2 separate regions of the Homo sapiens genome follow, and region 1 is linked to region 2. Evidence: promoter capture Hi-C in 16 types of primary human blood cells and fetal thymus (Javierre and others, 2016). All regions are on one chromosome and are shown on one strand. Each heading gives the region's core, a stretch centred on a gene start or on the middle of the fragment in contact. The rest is flanking DNA. Distances are from core to core; before and after follow the strand shown.

Evidence for each region. Contacts are between HindIII fragments. The CHiCAGO score rates a contact against its expected background, and 5 or more counts as called.
Region 1: a fragment that was not itself captured here is called in contact with the fragment with the promoter of GPC1 in region 2 in 1 of 17 cell types (M2 macrophages); the score reaches 6.0 in M2 macrophages.

What each region holds. Positions count from the first base shown.
Region 1 is chr2:240,170,971-240,174,669 of GRCh38, reverse strand. No RefSeq gene overlaps it. Among named protein-coding and RNA genes, the nearest start is that of OTOS, 32 kb to the right of the region's middle. The HindIII fragment of the contact is 4,278 bases long and covers 1-3,699 here.
Region 2 is chr2:240,434,301-240,437,994 of GRCh38, reverse strand. GPC1 (glypican 1) reads right to left here and starts at 2,332. Exons shown (of 9, transcript NM_002081.3): 1 at 1,911-2,332. The coding sequence starts at 2,076. RefSeq lists enhancers at 1-331, 383-959, 2,693-3,269, 3,669-3,694 and silencers at 2,084-2,143, 2,204-2,863. The HindIII fragment of the contact is 5,949 bases long and covers 988-3,694 here.

The DNA.
Region 1 (3,699 bases), core at 505-3,004, 260 kb after region 2:
TTTCCCAACATCTGCTTCAGGGATTCTCTCCCCAACACCTTCTTAGGTCTTGCCTCACACATGACCACTCAGGCTTTTCCTGACCACCGTCCTATTTAAAATCCCTATTCACCTTCCCAAAACACACACACACGCACACAGTCACTCCTGATTCACTTTTCTGCTTTATTTTCATCCACGGCACCCACTAATGTTCTACGTGTTATATTCATTCTTTAGCTGTCATCCCCTACACACACACACACACATGCACACACACACACGCGCACACACACACACACTCATAAAAGCTCCACAAGGTGAAACGCCTTCATCCTGTTTGTTCCCTCTGCATTCCTAACGCCTGAAACAGAGCTTATCACCTTTTAGACATCTGGTATACTGTGTTGAATGAGTGAACAGAATAACCGACTAAACGCTTCTTGGCCATCCCTAAAGATGTACCTTGACGCAGGGGGATAGTATATAACTGTTAAGAAAGGATGAAATGGGTTTATTTATATTGACCTTCCTGTCAGCATGAATGAGGCTCAAGGTTGTCTTTATTTCAACGTCTGCTGGACTCCATGCATGGGTTCCCATGGCCCCATCCTAGGGAGGCCTCGTGAAGCACAGGGCATCCTGCTGACAGCTCAAGATGTCTGCATCTGCAGCAGCCCCAGTCTGTCCCGGGGCCTTGAGCAGACAGGAAGCAGAACACCAGCAGTGCCTCCCCGTGTGTGAGCCTGAAGCAGAGCCCACCCTTTATCCCATTGCCCCTTCCTTTCTTCCAACGCTGTTAGGTCAGAAATGGAGGTGGCAAGTGAAGTGTGGGAAGGGGCCCATTTATCATTATATTACTTTCCACTAGTTTTTAAAATTTAATCAGAAAAGTTTAATATATCAGAAATTTTTCTGGCTCACTTGTGATGCATTTTTAGTAAAACTGTACTCTCTCTCCAAACCTGAACATTAATAAGAGGAAAAAAAATCAAAAGGAAAGAATTTACTCAATCAGGTTAAAAATCCACTTTCCTAAATTTATTTCAACTCCGAGTTTAGTTGAGGCCAAAACAAACCCTAAAATGCTGTCTCTACACATATGAAGATATCCAAGGTGTACTAAGTAAATTATACAGGTTAGAGAGCGAATACAGAAAGCAGGTTTCAGGTACATAAAATAAATTGTACAAGCACAGAAGAACATGTTGATAATTGTAATAGTGATTAACTAGATGAGAGTGGAAATTGTGGAGGACTTTCTTTTTTATGATATACACCTCTGTAAAGTTTGAACATTTAACTTCAAACATGTATTACGTTTATAATCGCTGAATAGTAACAGTATTTCCATCTTGGGGGAAAACCCCACACACCAAATTGGGGAAGGAAACATTTGCAGTTATTCTGGGCCTTCTGAATATTCCAAGTAGGCAACTGATAAGGTTTGGCTGTGTCCCTACCCAAATCTCATCTTGAATTATAGCTCCCATAATTCCCATGTGTGATGGGCGGGAGCTGGTGGGAGATACTTGAATCATGGAGGCAGTTTCCTCCACACTGTCCTTGTGGTAGTGAATAAGTCTCAAGAGACCTGATGTTTTTATAAGGGGTTTCCTCTTTCACTTGTCTCCCATTCTCTTTTGCCTGCCGCCATGTAAGACATGCCTTTCACCTCCTGCCATGATTGTGAGGCCTCCCCAGCCACGTGGAACTGTGAGTTCATTAAACTTCTTTTTCCTTATAAATTACCCAGTCTTGGGTATGTCTTTATCAGAAGCATGAAAACGGACTAATACAGCAGCTTATTTGAATACACTAAGAACTAGAAGATTACTTTGTTGTTGTTTCTCAGACCTCTGTTATTTTAAGAATGCATGAAAACTAAGTGTTCAAATCATCTCAGTCTCCCCTGAACTTCCCATTTGGCAGGTATTCTCTCCCGCTTGGCAAACACTAGTTTGCACCATGCTAGCCAGGACAGGACAAACACGTGTGCCAAAGACAAGCTCAGAATCAGAAAGAACGCCTGTTCTTCCACAGGGCACCCAGGAGAGAAGTGTGAAAATTCCAGAGCCCTCCTCACAGCGTGGCCTCGTACCACAGGATGCTTTGTTTAACAGACAAACAGACGTTGTCCTTGCAGGTGAGGCCAGCCCAGGGGGAGCCAGGAGTCCAAGGCAGCTGACTGCGGTGTGATGGGAATTTCTGGAAGCCCCATTCACCTAAACACTTCCACAATAAGGATGCTTGAAATTCTATGACAGAAGCCTCACTTGGGCAAATGAGAAGGCTCTATGCCAGAAGGGCTAGGACGCGCAGCTGCCACAGCCTGCTCAGCTCATTCTCCCTAAGGTTTGGACCACCCGGAGAATTTGAAGCCATAGGCACTGCCACAACGTGACTACCCAAGGAAGTGGCCAGGCCAGGATGCTGGTGAGAACTGTTCAGTGGATGTCAGGCCGCTGCACGGGCCTGACTGGAGATGGGGCAGGGGTGGGGACCACCCTTTAGAGGTTCTATAAGCTGAGGAAAGTCAAGAGGTCAGCCCAATCCCATTATCCACCTACCTACATGTCAATATTCAAATAAAAAAAGCAACTTCAGAAACAATGATTGTCTCCCACTGTTTATACCATCAAGTCAAAATTCCTTTACCTTGAGCTTTTAGCTCTGCTCACCACTGCCCTCCAGACCCCTCTCCCTCCACCTCCCAGCCACCTTTTTCATGGCTGGCGTTAAATTCTGCCTGTCCTTCCTGGCTAAAAATGCCCCTTTATTTTAATCACTGCATGTCACACAGCCTAAAGTGACCCCCAGTGAGTGGTAACTTGTATAATCTGCTCCTCTTGAGAGTGGTGGAGACTGTGGCTTGCTTCTAGGTCACACAATGTGACATGGGTGCTGGGCGTCACTCTGCAATTGTGTAAGACTCCAGCGTCTTTGCAGAGTCGAGTGAGAGATTCTCCTGTGGCTTTAAAAGAGCAGCTGCCATGCAGTCCACAGGCACAGGAATTGAATCCTGCTGACAACCTGCAGGAGTTGGAAGCATGTCCTTCCTGAGTTGAGCCTGCAGATGAGAACACAGCCCAGGTGACCCCAGATTGCATCCTGTGAGACCCTCTGCAGAGGACCTTGCTAAGCCATGCCTGGAATGTCTACTTACAGAAACGAAGAGAATAAGTGGTGGTGTTATAAGTACCACATTTGTGGTCATTTGTTTACAGCATGGAAAGCTGACCCCTCTTGCCTCCCATGGGGGCTGTCAAGGGCACAACCCAACTCAAATAAGCCCAGGGTGCAGTGGAGCCAGGGACTCAGTCCCCAGCAGTCTCCCATAGCACTGGAACCTCAGCCAAGGCTTGGTTCGCTGATGTGTTCTACAGAACAGACTCTCCTACAAGAGGACATCACAGGAAGAGATGGAAGAAATATATTTAAGATGCAAGGAGATTGGTAGGTAAAGACTGAAATGGTCAATGCCTGTGTTAGGGGAGCAGCCCTTATCATCCTATCATGAAAGTTTGTTCTCGGAAATAGACATCTATTCCATGGCAGCCTGGCCCGTGGAAAACACACAGAGGTCTCCACAAACTCAACCTTGGATCAAGCAGCCAGTCTGTTCTCTGCACAGGACAGAGGCCCCCGGCAGCCACCCTTTGCTAAGTCAAAGAGGACTTATTATTCCCTGCACAATCCAATTAACAGCATAGTTTTCTT
Region 2 (3,694 bases), core at 1,083-3,582:
ACCCAAGAGCAGCACGACCCACACTCTCTGGCCCAGCCCCACATCAACTTCTCCATCTTGTCCTGCCCTCTCTTCTCACCCTTGGGAGATGGCCAAACTCTGCCACTCTGTCTCTCTAACTGGCAACAGTGGCCTGTGGATGCAAGGAAGGTTAGGTTGGCTCCTAAGGATGCAACTGCCCAGAGGACATGGAGGTGCTAAGAAGGGCTGGGGGCTAATGGTTTCCAAAGGAGCAGGGTTCAAGACTCTGGGCTGGGAGGGGCAGCCACTCAGCCACTCTGCTACCCTGGTGCCTGGGGAGGGATTCACCAGGAAGGCCAGGGATGCCTCTTTATGTGTGAGTAGAGGGGCAGAGAACGAACCCAACTGTGCCGAGGGCCTTGTGCTGCCTGGCATCCAGGTGTGCCCCCTACCTGGGACAGACAGAGCCCAGTGGGGTGAGGGGGGCAGCCTGGAAATGACAGGGTTGCCTCTGCAGAGGCACAGGAAGGCCTGTCCTGGGGACTTTGGAGGGGTCCTTGCAAGAACCTCAGGCTGGTGGGGAGGGCATCGGGAGATCCGCCAAGGGACTGTCTGCGGGTTCTGTTCCTTCTGTGGGGGGCGGTCAGGGGGCCCTTACAAGAACCTCAGGCTGGGGGCATCGGGAGATCCACCAAGGGCAAGGGGCTGTCTGTGGGTTCTGTTCCTCCTGGAGGGGCAGGGGTCCAGAGCCCGACTGCCTCCTCCCACCACTCCGCCCCCCGCGGCAAGGCATGGCCACAGACCCCCCTCACCCAGATGCACGGATCCTTCTTGCTCAGAATCCCCAGGACCATGGGCATTTCTGCGCTGAGTCCCCATCTGAGTAGCCCTCCACCCGCACTCCCACTCCCCTGGTTTCAGAGGAGCCCCCCAGAGCAGGAACCTAGTCTGTTTTGTTCTTGCCCACTGGGTCCCTGGCACGCGGTACAGACCGAGGTTGGTTCCCACACGTGGAAAGGTGAAGCTTGGGTTCCAAGAGTTCCTTAGCACACGGAGCCCACCGTTCCACCCACCCGTACACTTCTGTCCCCAAAGCTCCTCCGGGACCACAGGGAGGGAAGAGGCAGAGCCGCAGGCGGCTGCAGGGCTTAGGGGGCGCCAAGAGGGCCGCTGTTCTTACAAAGAAATGACACGGCCCCTGGGCGGGATCCAACGCGCCGACCACCTGCAGCTGGACTCGCGGCACGAGGCTGCCCAAGCGCCAGGCGGGGGCCGGCGCGTACAAGTTCTTCGACAGGAATCTCTACGAGGCGGCGGCGTTCCGCCCGCGGATAAGTGCCCAGCTCCCTCCCCACCCCTCCGCACTACCCCCCGAGGGGGTCAGCTTATAAAACCCACCTAGGCTGCCTTTGCTGGAGACCCTACGAGAATCCCCGGGCAGGACCGGAGACGCCTCCCAGAGAGGTCTGTACAGAGCAGAAGGGGTCCGCGGCCACCGTCAGCGGCGCCCCGAAAGCCCGGCCACGCCGAGCCCCACAGCGCCCCGACAGCCGGCCCCGGGGCTGGGACTCCCGGCCTGCAGGCGCGCTGGGCCGAGCGGCGGGCAGAAGACGCCCAGCTCCAGCCGTGGCCCGGGAGGAGCGCCCCGAGCCCGCAGCCCGGCGAGATCAGCTCCGCAGGGAAGAAGCCGGCGTGCGGGGGGCGGGGAGGGGCGGAGGACGACCGAGCGGGGCGGAGGAGACCCTGGCGAGGGAGTGCGGCGCGGGGCTTGGAGGCGAGGGCCGTGGGGTTGCAGAGGAGCCGCAGCGCAGGGAGCCATTCGGGGCCCGGGCGGCGGGGCGCAGGCGGCAGGATCCCGCGCCGGGGGCGAGTAGCCGCGTCGGGAAGACCAGGGTCCGGAGCCCAAAGCCCGGCCAGGCCCGGGTTCCCGGCGCCGCGCCCTCACTCACCCGAGATCTCCGCCTGGGGCACGTCGCTCAGGCTGAAGCCCTTGGCTCCGTAGATCTGGCGGACCTCGCCGCAGCTCCGGCTCTTGCTGGCCGGGTCCCCGCGGGCGCAGGCGACCAGCGCTGCGGCCGCACATAGCAGCCACCAGCCTCGGGCCCGGAGCTCCATGGCGGGGCCGGCGGCGCCCCCGGCCACCCGCCCGCGCCTCTCTCGGATCCTGGCCGGGTCCTGCGCAGTTCCCGCCCGCGAAGGGCAGAGCCAAGGTCCCGGCGCGCGCGGCTCGCGGTCCAGAGGCGGCGGCGGCCGAGGAGGCGGAGACAACAAAAGCCGGCGGCGGCGGCGGCGCGGGGCGCGCGGGGTGCGAGGTCCGAACGCTCGCTCGGGCAGCCCAGAGCGCGGCGGGCTAGCGCAGTCCCGGCTCGGCGCCTCCCCCGCCGCCGGCCCGGCCCCTAGGCGGCCGCGGGAGAGGAGAGGGGCGGGGCAGGGTGGGAGCGCAGGGGTGGGGGAGGGACTGGGAGCACCGGGCGGGGCGGGGCGGGGCGCGGCGCGGGGGCGCGGGCCGGGGCGCACTGGGCGCTCCTCTGGCTCTTAGGGACCCAGAGGGCCCGCCTGGCCGCGCGACTCTATCGATCCCCGGCGGGAGGCGGCGGAGCCGGGCAGCGCGGGGCCGCGGCCGGGGTCCCCGAGGGCGGCCCCCCACGCCCAGCGCCCAGGGCGGTGGCACCACCTGTGGGGGCGGGGACGGGGGCGGAGGGTGCGCGAGGCAGGGCTTCCCCCGCCGGACGTGACATCACGCCTCCCGCGCCCCAATCAGGGGCCTCCCCGCCCCCAGCCGAAATCGGCATCCCGCTCCCCGCTCCCTCCCGCGCGCTCCGGCTTCCTGCACCCTGGCAGCGCGCCCCGAGAACGCTCTCCCGGCGCCTCCGTACCCTCCGCCCGCCGGCCGCGCCTCGAGCCGCCGCCCCTCTCCCCGCCTGCACCCCGCAGCGGCTCCCTCCCCGCGCCCTTCCAGCCGTCTCGCGCTGGGCTCCGGCTCGCACCGGGGGCTTTTGTGGTGTGGGGGCTGCACGCAGGAAACTCGCCAAGAAACTCGACCTCACCTCTCCCAGTCCCAGGGAGCGGCAACAGATGGCTTAATTGTTGGACCTTGACAGCTGTTTTGGGGGGGTGACCCTCCACGTTCTTTGGATGCTGGAGAAACCAAAGTGATGGGGCAGGGCCGGTCTACTGGTTTGGGCTGCTGGGTGGGGCCAGATGACCTCTGGAGAAGGGATAGGGTTGGAACCCGGCGACTAGTTAGGCCACTGGGGGAGGAGGGTGGAGTGAGCCGGAGCAGATGCCTCTTTGAAGAAGGCGGGAGGGCTGCCTGCACCTTGTATGGTAGGAGGGCGCGTGGCTTTAGCTGCACATGGGGAGTTGGGCTGGATGGGGTCTGTAGGGAGGGGGCGAGGACTGCGATGTTGGTGTCTGGAGGGCTTCACTCCTTCCTTGGCTCCCAGACCCCCCACCCCGGCCCCCTGTTCTCCACATGGTAAGGCCTGGCGGTGAAGCCAGGTGCCTGAGCTGCAGAATTGGGGGCAGGCATAGAGGTCAGTATCCTTGGCAGAGAACCTCAAGATGACCCCCATGTACAGCAAGGGTGTCCTGATTTCAGGGCCTGTGGCATCACCTGGAAGCTGCAGCGGGGTCCGTGGTGGGGGTGGTGGCAACATTCCCTACCCCTTCTGTGCCTGGGGCTCTCAGCCGCTGTGTGGGGCTGGAGCAGGAAGGTGGGGTGCCCTCCCCC